Linked DNA regions of Homo sapiens: region 2 is linked to region 1. The links are contacts of gene promoters, found by promoter capture Hi-C in human tissues and cell types (Jung and others, 2019). All regions are on one chromosome and are shown on one strand. Each heading gives the region's core, a stretch centred on a gene start or on the middle of the fragment in contact. The rest is flanking DNA. Distances are from core to core; before and after follow the strand shown. Region 1 holds the start of PRLR (prolactin receptor). Region 2 overlaps PRLR (prolactin receptor).

Region 1 (3,732 bases), core at 517-3,016:
GAGTGGGAACCACAAGGAGGAAAAGCCAAGTCCCTGCCTTCTAAGAGCTGACAGTCTGGAGTTACCCAGAGTGATCTTCTATTTCACTAACTGTTAAAATAGTCTGATTAGAACAACTATTGTAGAATTGAGTGACCCTTTGCTTTGCAAAGGTCATATAGAAATATTCTGCCACTGAGGATCTCATGTCGCCCAGTGGTTCTGAAAATAAATAGAAGTTGCGTACCTTCATGGACACCCATGAATGAAAGTAAATATACCCTAATCATCACAGGAAGCATGTGCGGTCTGCACGTGAAAGATGCATCTCCCATCAGCTAACAGAACCAGGTGGAGTCTATGTTTTAATAAGGACGTGTTATTGATCAGGAAGTATTAGGTTATTATGCCTAGGTAGTTGCTTCTGGGATTCCAGTCCAAAAGGATCACCAAAGCATCATGGGATTTTCAATGGCTTCCTGTGGCTTGGCAAATGCTCACTGCTAACTGTGATTTCCCAGTTATCCAGAGTAGCAGTCAAATCAAAGGGGAAAGCCTCATGTTTCAATAACTTAAAACAAAACAAAAAAAAAAACGGCCAGGCGCAGTGGCTCACGCCTGTAATCCCAGCACTTCAGGAGGCCAAGGTGGGTGGATCATGAGGTCAGGAAATCAAGACCATCCTGGCTAACAGGGTGAAACCTCATCTCTACTAAAAATACAAAAAACTAGCCGGACATGGTGGCACGCGCCTGTAGTCCCACCTACTCGGGAGGCTGAAGCAGGACAATTGCTTGAATCCAGGAGGCAGAGGTTCCAGTGAGCCGAGATGGGGTCACTGCAATCCAGCCTGAGCGACAGAGCGAGACTCTGTCTCAAAAAAACAAACAAAAACAAACAAAAAAAAAAACTCAGTAACCTTGGTTTAAAGTATTTCCTTGGTGGCCCTCTGGGTTGTGTAACAATCGGATGCATTAATTATTATGGCATCAAATGACACCAGCAACATACATAGTCAGAAATAACTATTTGATTCAGGCAGGTGCTATTATTTGTTTCAGCACTGTTAAATGTGGGGTTTTTGTTTTTGCAAGAGAAAAGGCGGTTGTGTGTGGTTTCAAGAAGAAGAAAAGTCAGAACAACATGCAGCCCATTAGAAAAGATAAATTCTTTATTTGTGGAAAACAACAGAAGTGGGGCTATTTAGGCACCGCCAATGTTTATTATATTCATATGGCAGAGAATAAACACAGCACACTAGAAGTTTGCGCTTTGGGTATTAAAAAAAAAAAAAAGCAAAACCTTCTTAGGTCACTGACTATCTTCTTTTGCTCCTTTCTATCTGACTCCTCAGGCAAGGTGCAATTCAAATCCCTGGAGAACCTCTCAAATATAGCTGCTGTTCAATGTTACTCAGAAATAAGGAAAGAAATTTGACACGGAGACACTCCACATCTTGGCTGCCTGGAAAAATATCATCTTTGAGGTCATTCAACTCACTAAGTCATTTTTATTATTGTTTTGTCTGTCTATTTTCTGGTACAGTCTCAATGAAAGATATGTGGCCCTAATCATGCAAAACCGATCTGGGGGGAATCAGTTGTTTCTTCAGGTCTTCGCAGGATTCCAGCTCCCCCAACTACCTCCGTCGCCTTCTAAAACTGGCAGGCTCTGGACGTTTTGCATGCTGAAGAAAATCACTGTTTTGCCTCCAGCAAGGAACATAAATGTTGCAACACTGACTCCTCCTCTCATGAAGAAAGAGTGAACAAGTGCACCGAGTTGAGCTTCTTCTCACAGAGCCACCGGGCTGGGGACCGGGGAGCGGAGGCTGAAATCCCCAGACGCCGGTTTTCTGGGCTGGGCTTTCTGCCTTACTCACTCCTTCTCCCTCTTTCTGGATTTTACCGACCGTTCGCGAAACAGCTTTCCACACAATGGAGCTTCATGTCCTCGTGCAGGAAGTACTCATCGACTGATGTGGCAGACTTTGCTCCCTGGCAAAAGTGAGTACCCATGGCGAGCTGAGGCCGCCTCCGACGGCGCGCGGCAGGGGCTGCGCGGGCGGCCGCTCTCCGGGATGCGGGTTCGAGGCCCGCGTGCTGAAGGGGAGAGCGGGGCCACCGGCGCGGGCTCCTGGAGAGAACGCCAGCCAGGAGCCAGAGTCGGCAGCCGGCGGGGAAGCCCGGGATCCGCCCGCCTCCCGCCCGGATGTCCCTTCTCAGAGGGGCTAAAAAATACTCTTAAGGTGCTTTGCCTCCACCACTGCCCCCAACCCCAGCTTTTACAAACTGCACTCGGCTCGCATTCGCCTTTGTCAAAGGCATCTTCACCTGTATCCTTGAGCATGAGTTTCGGCGTTGATTGTGGGATTCTCAGAATGCAAATTATTTGCGTCAAAATAAAAAGAAAAGAAAAAAAGAGCGGGGAGGGGGAAGGGGCGCAGACAGGTGATGTGATGAAAGCCGGACTCGAGACTCTCCCATCAGCAGCAGCCGCCGCCGCAGCAGCCTCGCGGGCATCCGGCGGGGAAAGTTTAGGGTTAGCAATGCTGACCTGAAAGGTGTTGCTCCTCCCAAAAGTCAGCGGGGGTAGGGGCAGATGAGCAGCCTCCGGGCCAGAAGCCGGAGCTGGACGGAGGCACCTAGGCAGAGGAATTGCAGCCCGGGAGGAAGCTGGAAGGAGAGCCCGCTGGAGAAGGGAGGAGGGAAGGGAAGAGGAGTTGGTTAAAGTCAGGCAAACTCAGGTAACTGGAGGGCCGGCCCGAGTGCTACGGCAGGGGAAGGCAAGGGCTGGAGTTCTGGCTCTTTGAGTAGAAAACTATCCTTTTAGTGACCTCTACCTGTATCCTGGGGAAGCAACCCACACTGCCCTGAAAACAAGCAACGTAGGGGATTCTATGACTGGACTTGAAAATGGTTGCAAAACATTATTATTAGTCTGGAGGGATCACTTTGTCTTCATTTGTCAAGTTGACCGGGCAAGATTTCCCACCTGAAATCGTGCTTCACTTGACCAGGGAAGTGCTGCTAATCCCAATCCTGACCATCAGCTGTGCAAACTTGGGCAAGATACTTACCCTCTCTGGGCTTCGATTTTTTTTCTGCAAAGTTTAGGGAATTAATTAATTATATATATATATTATAGAAATATATATAATATATATATAAATGTTTAATGAGGTGGAAGTGCTGAATAGTGCAAGAGAGGAGCAGATGAAAATATTAATTTCAGTGGTTCTTAAAAATTAGGGGTGATAGGTCCTTTTGAGAATTAGCTGTGAGTCCTCTTCCTGGGGCAAAATGCATATGGCATGTACATAAAATTTTACATGCAATCCCTGAGGGTTTGTGGATACTCCCTGAAAGCCATGCCTGAATCCCAGGTGACAATCCCTTATTCCTCCTCCTGTATCAAGACCACCCAGCCAACTCCTTGCTGCTGGTTGGGCTGACTGTGGGAGTAATCCACAGCCTTCTTGGGGGTCTGGAGTCAGCCACGCTGCTGAAGGAGACAGCTCCCCTGTCATGGGTGAGCTCCCCACATGCTCTCTCCAGAGCTCTACCAGCCTCTGACTCCAGGGGACCCCTCCTCACAACCCTTTTTAATGACTCTCCTAAGGCGACAGTCCTTACCCCTAGAATTTTCAGTCCCACCAACCCTGGAGAGCCATCTAAAGAGGATCGCTGTCTGAATCAGAGTGCTCTTCAGGTCACCTAGCTGGATGGCAGGGAGGCCAAGGCTTTGTTTGGA
Region 2 (3,732 bases), core at 383-2,882, 140 kb after region 1:
TGTTAACTTGTTCCTCTAATGCAGATGAAGGAAACATTTGTCTAATTGTAATTTTACAAATCTACCCTCCTCTCTTGAGCTTCCTGAAGGTACTATTAATAAACAGTAAAATAAGAAAGAGAAGCTTTCAGAGAGAGAAAAAGGGGAAAGCAGAGGTCAGAATGACCCACAAGAGAAACTAAATACTCAAGAAATCAATGATCACCCTAATTGGCTTCCGAGTGTGCTCATTATGGAACCATAGGCTTTAAACTTTTTAAATAAACTTTTCTTTCTACTTCACACACTTCTCCCCACTCATGACAAAAGCAAAGCAAAACAAAAACTTGCATTCTTGCTGTAACTCCCAGCAACACATTATCCTGAATAAATTGTTCCTAGAGGATGAGCAATGTTACAAATATTGGCAGAGCTGACCCGGGCTGGCAAGGACGGGTTTTAGCAGGGCCTGTGAGCAGGAGGGTAGGTGAGTTTCAGCTGACACTACTAGCCTGGTGTCCTGGGCTCCAGCCTGTGTCCCACAGCATGCCATTCCACTAAATTCCTCTTTCTGGCCAGCTCTGCCTAGAGAATCCTCTTCCCACGCATTTCTCCTCACTGAGGTCTCCTCCTAACCTGCTGTTTCTGCTCTGGTGCTCAGCTAGAAACTCTGGCCTTGGAGCCTGCATGAGGGGTAGAGGAGAAAACAGAGAGAACCCCCGGAGGTGCTGACCCATATCTGAAAGCGCTCCTCTCTGCTCCTGATATCCTAAACTCAATGCTAGGGCATCCAGCTAGACAAAAAAGAGGATCAGCTGAAGTCATGTAGGCGAGCATGGTGGCTTCCCAGCCCCACAGTATCAGGGCAAATTCCCAGGGCTCTGCTGTCCCTCTTTGAACCTGACATCCAAGCAAGAGAAATGGGAGCCCGCTTGCCAAGAGCTTTGGGGATTTGGCAACTAAAAAATTTTACACTCTTGGTGTTATATTTTCACACCACCTCACTGAGACCTTCTAGCATCCAGTCTGGAACTGGGTACAGCTCTTAGATAACAGTGGTTGCTCAGAACCAGGAGAGGAGCTGGCTACTCTCCTACCTCTTACCACACCTCCTACCCCAAAAAGATCCATCAAATTATAGTTTTATAGACCCTATGGGATTACAAAAGGGCCACACACTCTTGAAGCCCTACGTATCCAAAGGAAGCCCTTTGCAACCTCACCACACACACACACACACACACACACACACACACACAAAGGAAAGAGAGGAAAATCTAAGAGAAAAAAAAGGACTAAAAACCAAGATTCAGAAATGGGGATGGGGTGGATGAGGAGACAGACTGTGAGTCTGGGTCACAAGATCAAAGCTGAATAAAATCAAGGAAAAGTGGCCAGGTGCAGTAGCTCATGCCTTTAATCCCAGCAGTTTGGGAGGCCAAGGTGGGCAGAGCACGAGGTCAGGAGTTCAAGACCAGCCTGACCAACATGGTGAAACCCCATTTCTACTAAAAATACAAAAACTTAGCCGGGTGTGGTGGTGTGCACCTGTAATCCCAGCTGCTCAGGAGGCTGAGGCAGAATTGCTTGAACCCAGGAGGTGGAGGTTGCAGTGAGCCAAGATCGCACCACTGCACTCCAGCCTGGGCGATAGAGTGAGACTCCATCCCAAAAAAAATCAAGAAAAAGTGAAGGGAAAGGGGAAGGAAAGGAGAAGATGGGGAAAGAGGAAGGAAAGGATGCCCAGATACAGGGAGCTTTAGCGATGTAGTGAACGGACAGAAGATCAGGAACAAGTTGAGTTCATTGTGTGGGGATGGCAGAAAGATGGAGATTGGTGAGCTGAGTGGAGAAGTGCCATAGAGCGGTGTTTTGCCAGAGTGTCTGCGGATTGCTCATACCTGGGAAGGATTCTTTGTATGGTTCCCTTAGGCTGAGGGAGGGTATCAGCTTTACAGACCTTGTGGGATTACAAAAGGGCCACCACACACTCTTCAACCAATATGTGTCTATCTTGCATTCAAGGCTCATTCTTTGTTGAAATTTTGCAGTTGGTCACTAGGCTATTGTTATCTCCATCTCAAAGTACACAGACACACACACACACACACACACACACACCAGCAAAATGCTCTCTAAGAGCAATGCCAACATCAGGGCAGCCCACAGAGGAGTGTTGCTGGATGCTGATGCTTGGCATTCCTGAGCATCCACCCTAGGTCTCCTCAGCCTGAGACTTCATCGCTGGCTTTGGTCCATCAATCTGTTTCTGTCACCAGCAGAAGGGTCAAATGGTTAAATGGACCTCAATATTGATGCAGTGGCTTCTGGCTTTTTCTAGGACAGTTACCTCCTGGAAAACCTGAGATCTTTAAATGTCGTTCTCCCAATAAGGAAACATTCACCTGCTGGTGGAGGCCTGGGACAGATGGAGGACTTCCTACCAATTATTCACTGACTTACCACAGGGAAGGGTAAGAAGTTCCCTTCTCTCCTATGAAACCCCACATGAGTACTCCCATTCTCCAGGCCAAAGAAACACTGGTTCTGAGTGACAGCACATCCCTGAATTTACACCAGTAAGGTTCATACCACCGGGGAAAGGGGAGTCTAAGGTCCATGCCCACATTCTCCTGTTAATGTCTGTTAAGAGCTGTGTCAATATACATAAGGTTACCAGCCATAGCAGTACAATATCAGTGTTACTGGATGCTGATGCTTGGCATTTCTGAGCATCCACCCTAGGTCTCCTCACCCTGAGACTTCATCACTTGCTTGGGTCCCATCAATCTGTTTCTGTCACCAGCAGAAGGGTCAAATGGTTAAATGGACCCAATATTGATGTAATGTTTCAAATCCCCTCTCACAGCTTAGGTTGCAGCCTGAGGCCCCATAGAAGTGTTTCTTAATTGCTAGTTAATCTTAAATGCTCATCTATAATTCTTATGCCATTTGTATTTTTTTTAACTAAACATGTCACTTTTGCAAAATAAGTAGGATCGTGTGAAGTGGTACCATACAATCCTTGACAAATGTGGTATATTAGGTTTTCAAACTTGTTTCATGTTCAAGAAAATAAAGAACCTTGTAGGGAAAAGAAGGTGAGGTTTTTTCCTTAGCACATTGCTCATCCAAGAGCCACCATCTCCTAGAAGACATATTGGGACCTAAGGTTGAAATGAGGGCTAAACCAGATCATCTCTGTGCAAGCATTTTGTTACGCTGACAGTGAGACCCTCCTGAAAATCATGGGAGAGCTGCATTCTTCTTCAGAAAGGAAAATATTTAGTTGCTGGTAGAGACAGCTGGCCCACTTTCCAATGACTGCACTTTGTTGTACACAAAACTGTCATCCCGGCTGAAATCCAAAGGGACATCATGTAAACAGATTTCAGGAACTCAGATGCAACCAGAATTGAACAAGCCTCCACCCCTGTGCAGTGTATCTTGAGCTGAGGTTCCTGAGTCTAAATGTGAGCAGCCTACTGAGCCACGTGGGCTTGAAATACCTCCTCTCAACGTCACTTCACTTTATTGCTGACTTGGTGCAGTCTGAAATGGACCAACATCAGTTTTTGTCCTCTTGAACCCTTTTTTAAAAAACGAAAAGTAATTCAACACGTATGTGAAATAGCTGCTGCATTGTGCATGACCCCTCTGTGTGTGGACAGGTGAAAGTTCCAATTTCCTGAGGCAACCCAATGGGCATGACCTGGGTATGGTGGTGCCTGGGCCATTGAAAGCTCGAGTGTT

What was found. The method cuts DNA at HindIII sites, captures the fragments that hold promoters and counts their contacts. A contact is called where the count stands out against the background at its distance.
Region 2: a fragment that was not itself captured here is called in contact with the fragment with the promoter of PRLR in region 1 in 1 of the 25 tissues and cell types used here (stomach).

Annotation. Positions count from the first base shown.
Region 1 is chr5:35,228,521-35,232,252 of GRCh38, reverse strand. PRLR (prolactin receptor) reads left to right here and starts at 1,766. Exons shown (of 10, transcript NM_000949.7): 1 at 1,766-1,985. The HindIII fragment of the contact is 8,302 bases long and covers 1-3,732 here.
Region 2 is chr5:35,084,929-35,088,660 of GRCh38, reverse strand. It overlaps PRLR (prolactin receptor), which reads left to right. Exons shown (of 10, transcript NM_000949.7): 4 at 2,321-2,453. Among named protein-coding and RNA genes, the nearest start is that of AGXT2, 39 kb to the right of the region's middle. The HindIII fragment of the contact is 6,672 bases long and covers 1-3,732 here.